Regions from separate parts of the Homo sapiens genome. Here region 2 is linked to region 1. Evidence: promoter capture Hi-C in human tissues and cell types (Jung and others, 2019). All regions are on one chromosome and are shown on one strand. Each heading gives the region's core, a stretch centred on a gene start or on the middle of the fragment in contact. The rest is flanking DNA. Distances are from core to core; before and after follow the strand shown.

Evidence for each region. Contacts are between HindIII fragments. The study calls those that stand out against the background at their distance.
Region 2: a contact is called between a fragment that was not itself captured here and the fragment with the promoter of TESC in region 1, in 1 of the 25 tissues and cell types used here (spleen).

What each region holds. Positions count from the first base shown.
Region 1 is chr12:117,094,989-117,100,665 of GRCh38, forward strand. TESC (tescalcin) reads right to left here and starts at 4,428. Exons shown (of 8, transcript NM_017899.4): 1 at 4,237-4,428. The coding sequence starts at 4,294. It overlaps TESC-AS1 (TESC antisense RNA 1), which reads left to right and starts at 4,479. Exons shown (of 3, transcript NR_120464.1): 1 at 4,479-4,656; 2 at 5,465-5,652. RefSeq lists silencers at 3,824-3,923, 3,994-4,103, 4,164-4,683, 4,422-4,560, 5,427-5,644. The HindIII fragment of the contact is 11,228 bases long and covers 1-5,677 here.
Region 2 is chr12:116,918,896-116,924,572 of GRCh38, forward strand. The region is part of intron 1 of FBXW8 (F-box and WD repeat domain containing 8); the gene reads left to right. Among named protein-coding and RNA genes, the nearest start is that of FBXW8, 11 kb to the left of the region's middle. The HindIII fragment of the contact is 5,174 bases long and covers 1-5,090 here.

The sequences.
Region 1 (5,677 bases), core at 3,178-5,677:
TTGGGCAACAAGAGTGAAAATTCATCTCAAAAAAAAAAAAAAAGAGAGAGAGACAAGGTTAAGAGGAAAGGTTTGAGTTTGTTTTTTCTTGTTTTTGTTTTTTGTGAGATGGAGTTCACTCTGTCGCCCAGGCTGGAGTACAGTGGCATGCTCTCAGCTCACCGCAACCTCCGCCACCCAGGTTCAAGCGATTCTCCGACCTCAGCCTCCCGAGTAGCTGGGATTACAGGCGTCTGCCACCGCGCACAGCTAATTTTTGTAGTTTTAGTAGAGACAGGGTTTCACTATCTTGGCCAGGCTGGTCTTGAACTCCTGACCTCATGATCTACCTGCCTTGGCCTCCCAAAGTGCTGGGATTATAGGCGTGAGCCACCACGCCCGGCCTAGACCTTACCCTGGGTGGAGACAGAGAAAGGCTCCCGTACGTAAACACCTGATTGTACACATCAAATGAAAACAGTGCTCCAGGCAGAGGAACAGCTTTTGTGCAAAGGCCTGAAGGTGAGAAAAAATACGGGAGTCTTTTCCTATCCCTTCTTGGTTCCTAGAAATTCAAGTGGCAGCTACACACAGTGAAAGCATGCTGGCAGTAAGAAAGCAGTCTTGGGGCCAGGCATGGTGGCTCATGCCTGTAACTCCAGCGCTTTCAAGAGGCTGAAGTGGGAGGATCACTTTGAGGCCAGGAATTTGAGACTAGTCTGATCAACATGGCAAGACCCCTGTCTCTACAGAAAAATTTAAAATTAGCTGGTGTGGTGGCGCACACCTGCAGTCATAGCTACTGGGAAGGCTGAGGTGGGAGGATCGCTGGAGCCCAGGAGTTCGAGGTTGCAGTGAGCTTGATCATGCCCCTTGCACTCCAGCCTGGGTGAGAGAGCAAGACCCTGCCTCAAAAACTAAAAATTAAAAAAAACTGTAAAAAAAGAAAGTAGGCTTGGGGATCCCATGATCTCCAACTCCTCCACTTAGCAGCTGTGGGACTGCAGGCAAGCTGGTTTACCTCTCTAAGCCTCAGTTTCCTCACCTGTAAAATGGCCCTAACACTGCCTTCCTGGGGGATCATTACTATAAAGAGTGTTATGCAGAGAGCACCAGCGTGGAGCCTGATGCTCAGCAGGTGCTTGGGGAATTATGTTCATTATCACCAGCCTCAGCCTGACCTTCTGGTCCTTTCTGGATGGTGTTCTCAGAAAGGGACCAAGCTGATTCCTCCCCAGAAAGTCAGGGGTCATCTTGGTCCTCAGGGAGGCGGGGGAGTCAGCAGCCCTGTGGGCTCAGTCTGTCCTCTGGCCACCTTACCCTGAGGCTTTTCTCCCTTTTTCTCAGGGAAGATTCCCAAGGGAATGGCCTTGGAGGAAGGGCCCTGCCTGACCCACTGGGTCTCTGGGAGCTGACGTTCCCATGCCAAGCCGATCGTCTCGCACGTAACCTTATCAAATCCACACAATGACTTCAGGATCCAGGTGGGGGTACTGAGGCTCAGAGAAGTAAGATGACTTGCCCAAGGTCATGTAGCTCAGAGAGGTGGGACCAAGACTCAACTCTCAGCTATGGCTCGGAGCGACCAGGACATACAAGAGTGTTTAAAGCATGGTCAATAACAAACCATGTACATGTGTTTGGTCTAACTACTTCATGTATATTAACTCAATCCTTCCCAACAACTTCAAGGGAGGTACTATGACTATGCCCATTTTATAGTAGATAAAACTGAGGCTCAGAGAGCATAAGTGACTTGCCCAAGGTACCTGGCAAGGCCCCTGAAGCCAGGCTCCTGCCACAGCCTGAGCCCTGACGACAGCTGTGTCCTCATCTCATGCATTCTTATTTACTGTTGCTGGCTTGTCCCTGCCACAGGGCCTCTGCATTCGACGTCCCCTCGGCCCGAGATGCCCTTTCCACTGATTTGCACACCCCTGGCTCATTCTTACTTGGATTTCTGTTCCATTATCACCTCCTCAGGGAGGACCTCCGGATCCACCCTAAAGCTCCATTCTCATGCCACCCTGCTATGCCTCGTTCACAGTTTAACACCTGTCGGGCGTTTTGTTTACTGTGTGTCCCCCTCCAGGAACAGCAGCCTCTCCGAGTCATCTCTAAATCCCCAGCCCCTGGTCTATAAATATTTGCTAAGTGGGCAAAAGTGACCGAATTACGCAGTCCCTTTCGGAGGACTGGGGGCAACTTTCCACCTACCTAAAGTTCCACCTGCCTACTCTAGTCTAACCTCAGAACCTCCTCTCCGACCCTCTCCATCTCCCTTGGGTTATGAAGTCTGAGCTCTGGGCAGCAAGAAGGGAAGCCGCTGCAGCTACATCTAGGAAGGTTACAGAGCAGGAACACAGCATCTGTCATCCCAGTGGGAGGCTGGACCCAGGAAACTGACAAGACTCCCAGCATGCTCTGCAGCCCCTCCTCCCTGTCAAACCCACAACCAGGTGGAATTCCCGAGTGCCCCGTGGGCTGCCGGAGAGCCCACCCTTCCAACGGGGATCCCAGCCACAGAGAATGCCCATCGACACCCATCCAGATTCAAAGCAGTGGGAGGCGAGGAGAGGGCACATGAGAAATAATAAAAGCAGAGGAGACCCAAGCAAGTAAGAGCTAGAGGAATCCCTCCTTTCTCTCTCATATTAGTCTTCGGATTGAAGTGCATAAAACTTTTTGAGTAAGTAAAATATCCAACATAGTTCAAAATGAACATATAAAAACGTTTACGGAGAAAAAGCTCACTCTCCCTTCATCCCTTCCACTCCCCCCGCAACCCCCACCAAGCATCCATTCGTACTTTCTGGTGGATTCTTCCAGTCTGCAAATATAGCAATTACAAATGTATACTCTTATTTTCCCCTCTTTTTACATTTTCTATTTCTTTTTACTTTGCGGCTCCAGCTCAAAGGATCCTTTTTTAAAAAACAGAAAAAAGGGTACCATATTATATATGCTGAGCCACACCTTTTACTTCTTTAGTTGGATATTTCTATATCTCTACACACACAGAGATACAGATATAGACGTATAAGTGCGTGCATACACACACCAGTTATTAATGGTTTTCTGCAATTTTCATCCAGTTCTCCTGGAAAGGGGTATTTAGATTGGGGGTCAAGAGGGGTTGCTTTTCAGCTGACACACAAACAGCTGGGCCACCCTCTCTTGGTGATCAATACTGGACGCTGGTTCTCTGCACTTGAAGCAGGTGCCAGGAGCTAGCTCTTTCCCAAAATATCTGCAGCTCCCATTTCCTGAGCGTCTACCAGGTACTAGGAGAACTCTTACAACAGAGAAGGAAAGCTGAGAATCAGAGAGGTAAAGTGACTAGCCCAAGGTCACACAGCCAGGAAGTGCAGCTGGCAGGGTTCACAGCCGGTCTGTCGCTCGCCAAAGCCGGTTTGCCCACACACCTGGCCCCCGCGGTCTCCAGTCCACACCCTGGTCCACAGCCAGAGGCAGAACTGGCCATGCCGAGTTCAGGACCCAGGGCCAAGTCCCCAGCCCGGCTGAACTCGGGCAGAGAAGCGCTTTCTCCGCCATTTCCCTGCGGGCAGCTCGGCCAGGCCTCCCAGGGCTCCCCGCCTCCGGGCCGATGCGGGGCGCGCAGCCTTTGCTGGTCCCGGGAGACTCAGCGAACTCAGGGGAGGACGCTGGGCTCCGGGCAAAGTGCTCTGCGGCCGCTGCCTCGCTAAGTCTCCCAGCCACCCGCGGGGATGAGGCTGCCTGAACCCATTTTACAGATGCGAGGACGAAAGCAGGCGCCGGGCGCCGGCTCTCCCGACTAAGGTCACCCGGCCGGGGAGCGTCGGAGACCTGTTCCCACCCAGGTCCGCCGACTTCAAAACTTTCCGCTCTCGCGCTCACGAATGCAAACGACTCTCAGGTGTGGGGCGCGCGCGCCAGCGGGGGTGCCTGAGGGACTTGCCCGCCCGGCCTGAGGCACCTGCCCTGCGCTTGGGAAGCCTGGGCCCCGCTCCCTCCCCGGTCCGCAGTCCCCCGGCCAGGGAGTTCCCGGGCCAGTCCGAAGCTGAGCGGCTGCGGCACTGAGCATCGCCGCGGAGCTCCTCGCCGCAGCCCGCGAGGTGGCCAGCGGGGACCCATTTGAAAGAGGAGGAGACTGAGGCGCAGAGAGGGCCCGCCACTGGCCCAAGGTCACACAGCGCGGCGGCGGGCCGGGGTCCCCAACAGTGGCCGTTCGGAGGTCCCGCCCCGGTCCCCGCGCCGCCCCCCGCGGGTACTCACAGCCGGTCTTGCCCTCGAGCTCCCGCACCTCCTCAGACGCGGAGTGGGCAGCGCCCATGGTGCCCGCGGCGGGGGCCCCGGGGCGCGCGTCCCTCTCAGGCCCCGCACTGGCTTCGGCTGCGCAGCGGCGGGACTGGCCTCGGGTCCGGCCTCGGGTCGGGACGCCGGCGAAGGCTCGGAGCCGCGGGTTCCGCGTGGGGCCGGAGCGGGGCCTCATATAACGGCGGAGGGCGGCGCGCCGCGGTCCTAGCGCACGCCGGTTTCGCGCACTGCGCGGCTAGGGGAGCGCCCCGCCCCGCCCCGGCCCGGAAACCGCCGGGAAGGGGACCCCGGAGCCCACCGCTCTGGAGTCCCCGTTCGTGCAGCAGTGCTCACGTACCTCGTCCCTTCCGCACACCTGCTGGATCTGGAAGGAAGCAGGTGTGAGCAAATTTGGGGGCGTGGGTAGGAGGGGTGGGACCCCTGGGAGGTGCTATGCCCACTCCCAACCCATCCCACCTTACATCCTCCAGATCTTAGGAGGGAAACTCCACTGAGATAGTCAAGGAAGTCAGCGAGCATGAAATAGCTCTATGGAGAACAACAGTAATAATAATCCTATTTGAAAATGCACCATGCGCTTTGGTTTTTTCCAGGAAAGCCCCAGCACCTTCTGAGGTGAACACACCCACGTGGCGGCCCGTGTGGGCCCTGCACAGCCCGGTGGCTGAGAGGCACCTCAAACTGCAGGAGCGGGCTGGGCGCATGGCTCACGCCTGTAATCCCAGCACTTTGGGAGGCCAAGGCGGGCGGATCACTTGAGCTCATGAGTTCGAGACCAGCCTGGCCAACATGGTGAAACCCCGTCTCTACTAAAAACACAAAAATTAGCCAGGCGCGGTGGCACATGCCTGTAATCCCAGCTACTCCGGAGGCTGAGGCAGGAGAATCACTTGCACCTGGGAGGCAGAGGTTGCAGTGAGCTGAGATCTTGCCACTGCACTCCAGCCTGGGCGACAGAGCAAGACTCTGTCTCAAAAAACAAACAAACAAAAAAACAACTGCAGAAGTGGGCCCAGGAGGCTGCATTTGGGACAAACTGCTGGAGAGAAGGCAATGCCGGTGGTCCCCATGCCCATTAGGGAAGTTCTGGGTTAAGATGGCTTGAGGGGTTGGCTCTCCATCCAGTTGGGGTGACTGGGGCCGATGCTGTTGCCTGTGTAATGTGATTCCTCCTCCTTAAAATAAGGATAAGTTAATGAGATGTCCACCAGAGGGCCTGGCGTGGACACAGCACATGGCCACAGAGGCTGGTGGGCGCTATGGAATCTTGTCCCCTGGAGAGGCACACAGCCAGGGCAGAACATCAAGGTCAAGGCTCTCCTGAAGGCTCTGCAGTGCTTAGTGACACCACCATCAATGACCGTCAGGTATCAGGTCTGTTCTGAACGTTAGTCTCGAT
Region 2 (5,677 bases), core at 1,254-3,753, 180 kb before region 1:
GGAGATACATTTCAAGACCCCCGGTGGGTGCTTGAAAATGCAGATAGTACTGAACCCTGTATATGCCATGTTTTTTTTTCCTATATACACAGAGCAATGATAAAGTTTATAAACAAGGCACAGTAAGAGATTAACAGCAACAACAAAATAGAACAATTACAACAGTATACTATAATGTTATATGAATGTGGGCTCTCATAATACTGTACTGTAAGTAACTGATGCTATGGAAAGCAAAACCGCGGATAAGGGGGGACGACTGTGTTTTCTGTTCATCCAACATATATTCATTGATCAGCTCAGTGCTGGGGAATCAGCAGTAAACAGAATGGCTCCTTGTCCTCAGAGAGCCTAAAGTCTTGTTTCTTTTAACTAAAAGAATGACATTAATGGAGTCAGGACAGTCTTGGCTATGGGGCTGGGCTCTGCAGTCAAGCAGACCTGAGTTCAGATTCTGGCTCTGCTGTTACCAGTTTGCCTTGGGCAAGTTAATTTCCCCTGCCTTAGCTGTCAAATGATGATGATGTTAGTACCTATCTCGTGAAGAGGCAATGAAATAGGCATGGAACTTAGCACTGAGCCTGGAGTACAGTAAGGGCCCAATAAATGTAAGCTGGTGCCATTATCGTTAGTACTCAGAGTTTGCTATGCTATTTTACTTCCTCTTTACTGAAGCTTATCACCGATAAGCCCTTAGCTTCCGCCTCTTGTGAATCCCTGGAGGGCAGGATCTGTTGCCTTACTGTTCTAACTCCACCTGCCTTACTAGTACAGTAGGGGCCCTATCTATGTTTGTTGAGTTGAAATAATGTGGGCAAAATTGCTGCTTCTGACTGCGACTTTATAAAGGCTCTATGATTGTTAGAACCCTTGAACATTCAAAGCATCCTTCCAGGTTAAGATATGGAGTTTTAGGTCTGCTGAAAGTTTTAATACTGCTGGCCAATATTTATCACTCACCATGTCAATATTTAACCTGTCAGATCCTGCATCTGTGTTGCCAACAAGATAGATTTAATGGCTTAACCTTCTTCTGTTTTTAAGTTAAACACAAATAAGTAAGCTCCCTAATGTGAACACTTTTCTTCTGGCTAATATGCAGTGAGACAGCAAACCAAACCAAATGTGTACTCATGAATTGACTTAACTGGAATAACTTCCTTTCCTCTTTCCTGTTCTTTGCCTGCCTTTTAAAGCTCAGCTTGAGTTCTGTCTCCTGTGTTAATTCTTCCGTGATTTCTCCAGCCCAAATTTCTCCCTTTCCCCCAACTAAAAAGTTCTTATCCTCAGTGCTGTTCATTTTTTCATGTTATTCGTGAATTAGCAGGCCTCCACTTACGAACCTTTTGAAATGATGCCTGTGTATACTAGAACAACTTGTGACTTACATGCGGTCTTTGTTGGAACGGTCTGCTGCTTGAAGCAGCTTGGGTTTCATTCATATCCCACAAATATTTATTAAGTGTCTTCTTGGTACCAGCCACTGTTCCAGGCACTGAGAATATAGCATTGAACAAGGCAGAAAAAAGCCTGTGCCCTTGTGTAACTTACATTCTGGGGAAGAGGGAGTTAGACAATGGACAAATAATTGTCAGGTAATAAATAAATGTTCTGGAGAAGAAATAAGCAGACAGGATAGAGTGTATCTGCCAGGGGAGGGGCTGTAATTTTAAATAGTGCTGTCCAACAGGGTCTTTCTGGGAAGGTCACATTTCATGGAGAACCTAAAGGAGGTGAGGAGTGAACATACAGAGATCTGGGGGAGGGGATTCTAGGCCAAGACGGGCAAGTGCAAAGGTTCTGTGGTGACCAGGACCCGCACTTAGTTTAATGCTCTGTTGCCTTGATCATTTGTAATGATCTTAATCATTTGTGACCAACAGGCCCCCCAAATTCTATAGCCAATCCTGATGGTGGGAATGTGCCTGCAGTGTTTGGGACCCTTAATGTGAACATCTTTACTCTTTTCACAAACCCACTGTGGTTTCAAAAACCACACCCACTGTGGTACCCCTCTGGGACCTGAAGCTTCTCCTCTTCCTGTCTTCTCTCCTCGCCATGTCCTAAAGCTCAGATCCCAGTTTAGACTAAAAGGGGGCTCAAAGCAGAGGCCCAGCCCATTTTGCTTCACACCACCCTCCTTCACCACCACACCCAGCCTCCTGGGATTTCCCCCAGCACTTGCATTTCTTTAGATTGGCATCTTCTACCTTCTTTCCTTGCCAGAGTCCCCAGGAGAGTGAGAATATGTCTTGAAGCTGGAAAGCCTATTCTCGTAAAAAAAGGATAAATCAAATTCCATGGACATTTATTGTGCATCTACTGTGTGCAATGCACTGAGCTGGTTAGATTCTATAGTATTATAGTTCACTTATATCACCCGCACATGTGATCAACAAACATTTATTGAATACCTTTTGCTCTTCCTCATAGCTAGGCATGGGGATTAGGTTAAATGTTAAGAGACGAATTGTTTTTTTGTGGACTGCTTGGGAGCTTAGCCGCTCTTTGTAGCATTGTTTGTTTGGAGAAATGTTTTCCAGCTTCTATATGGCTGGCTTACTAATGAACTTTGGAGTACCTTAGGGGACGATCTATATTGCCTGTTGTAGTCTCCTGTATTTCATTTTACGTGACAATGACTTACCTCTATAAAAGATTTTAGCTCTTTGAGTGTAGACCATTTCTTATATACTTGCTAACAGCACCTCCCTCCCCCTAGCACCTGGTGTGGCCCTGAATTTAGATAGTATTTTGAACATAAGTTACCTTACTTTAAAAATGTGTTGCTTTTCTGTGTCTGTGAAAATATCATGTGCTCACTGTAGAAATATTTAGGAAATTCAGAAGAATAGAAGAAAATAAAAGTCTTTAGTAATATAATTGCTTAGAGGCTACCATTGTTAACATTTTGGTGTATTTCTGACTTTTTTTTTTTTTTTTTTTTTTTTAGACAGGCTCTCTCTCGCTTTTGCCTAGGCTGGAGTGCAGTGGTGTGATCATGGCTCTGTAGCCTTGACCTCCCATACTCAAGCTATCCTCCCACCTCAGCCTCCTAAGTAGCTGGAACTACAGGTGCATGCCACCACACCTGGCTCATTTATTTTTATTTTGTCTAGAGACAGTGTCTCACTATGTTACCTGGGCTGGTCTTGAACTCCTGGCCCCTAATGATCTGTCTATCTCAATCACCCAAAGTGTTGGGATTACAGATATGAGCCACTGTGCCTGGCCTATTTCTGACTTTTTTTCTTTTTGTATATAAGAATATATATTTCGAGACAAATTGTGGATTATAAATGGATGCTTATTTATCTCGACTGCCTTTCAGACCTTTTTCCCCCAGCCAACCAGTTTTTTTCTTCTCAAAGAAGACACAGGTGAAACTGAAACTCATCTATTTCTTCTGATTGAGATTGTGTGGGTCTACTCCACTCAGCTTTTGCAGTACATGGAAAGTTGAGATAAACGCCTAAAGAAACTAGTTTCAGTCATAGATTTAGTAAAAATGTTATTGCAAATCTCTTCTTTGAACTCAAGGTGCTTTTCTCAGTTTCTTAAACCACCACCCAGAGAGATCTTTCATGTCCTCTTTGCCCTGGAGATGTACATTGGGAACAAAAACCTTAAGTCAGTTTCTTCACTTTTTACTGCTTTGGCTCTTAGTAATTATCTGTTCTTCTATTAAACAAGAGAAGACAGATTAAATTTCTAACAGTAAGGCACAAAACCAATCCATTTACAGAATTAGTCTTACATTAGCACATAGGAATACAAATCAGCCTCCCTGGGGATGGATCTCTTTGCAATTTCTCTCAGTGTTTTTGGAGTAAGTCCAGTAGACTTTGGGAAAATCTAGTATTCACTGACTTTAAATTAAATAAGTAATATGACCCCTTTGAGTGTGTGTGTGTGTGTTTTTTTTCCCTTGACTAGGAAAAAGGGGATGGATAGATTTTTATATCTGCCTATGATGTATGGTTGTGTTCTCAACTTTTAGTGTGCATGAGGATCGCCTGAGAAAGAGGTGCTTGAGGCCGGGTGCAGTGGCTCATGCCTGTAATCCCAGCACTCTGAGAGGCCAAGGCAGGTGGAGGCCGAGAGTTCGAGACTAGCCTGGCCAACATGACAAAACCCTGTCTCTACTAAAAAATACAAAAATTAGCTAGATGTGGTGATGTGTGCCTGTAATCTCAGCTACTTGGGAGGCTGAGGCATGAGAATCGCTTGAACCTGGGAGGCAGAGGTTTCATTGAGCCAGGATCGTGCCACTGCACTCCAGACTGGGCGACAGAGCGAGACTCTGTCTCAAAAGAAAAGGAGGTGCTTGAGCCCTAACCCTGGAAATTCAGGGCAGTAGGTCTTGGTAGGGCCCTTGGCATTTTTTTTTTTAAATTCCACAGGTGATTTTAATGTGTAATACAGGACGAAAGTCCCCAATAGTGGTAGAGAATCGATATCTGAGACATTGTCAAAGAATTAAAAGCAAGGTTGTATGTTATCAAACAGATACTTTTCCTTAACATTGAAGGAATACTAATATTTTGAATTTATTGGTTTCCTATAGAATAAATTTGGCCAGTCTCACATTGCTGAGAGCTATTCAACTACTGCAAAATTATTTTCTTTTTTTTTTTGTTTTGAGACAGAGTCTCGCTCGCTCTGTCACCCAGGCTGGAGTGCAGTGGCGCGATCTCGGCTCACTGTAAGCTCTGCCTGCCGGGTTCACGCCATTCTCCTGGCTCAGCCTCTCGAGTAGCTGGGACTACAGGCGCCTGCCACCACACCCGGCTAATTTTTTGTATTTTTAATTAATTAATTAATTTATTTATTTATTTATTTTGAGACGGAGTCTTGCTCTGTCGCCCGGGCTGGAGTGCAGTGGCGCGATCTCGGCTCACTGCAAGCTCCGCCTCCCAAGTTCACGCCGTTCTTCTACTTAAGCCTCCTGAGTAACTGGGACTACAGGCGCCTGCCACCAGGCCCGGCTAATTTTTTTATTAGAGACGGGGTTTCACCATGTTAGCCAGGATGATCTCCATCTCCTGACCTCGTGATCCGCCTGCCTCGGCCTCCCAAAGTGCTGGGATTACAGGCGTGAGCCACTGCACCCGGCCCAAAATTACTTTCTCTAAATATTGTAGCCATGTTGATATTTTTATAGTTTGACCAGATTTCTCTATTTTAATATTTCTAATGTCTTTAATTCCTTTTCCTTCTTCTTGGAATATCTTTGTTTCTGAAATGACAGGTTGTCCATTTTCATGTTTTTAAGTCAGTGTTGTCCATTTTCATGTTTTTAAGTCAGTGTAGAGTTGGGTTAACGTGGCCCATAACTTTTTGGATGGCTATGTGCTTCGCAGTAGTCTAGGTGGAACACTGATAGCATCTTTATTTATTTATTTTTAATGGACACATTATAATTGTACATATTTATGGGGCACGGTGTCATATATGTATACAATGTATATTGACCAAATCAGGGTAATTAATGTATCCATCACCTAAAACGTTTATTATTTGTGTTGTAAACATTCAAAATCTGTTCTTCTAGCTATTTGAAAATATACAATAAATTGTTGTGAATTATAGTCAACCTGTAGTGCCACAGAGAACCAGAACTCATTCCTCCTGTCTAGCTGCACTTTTATATCCATTAACCAACCTCTGTCTGATA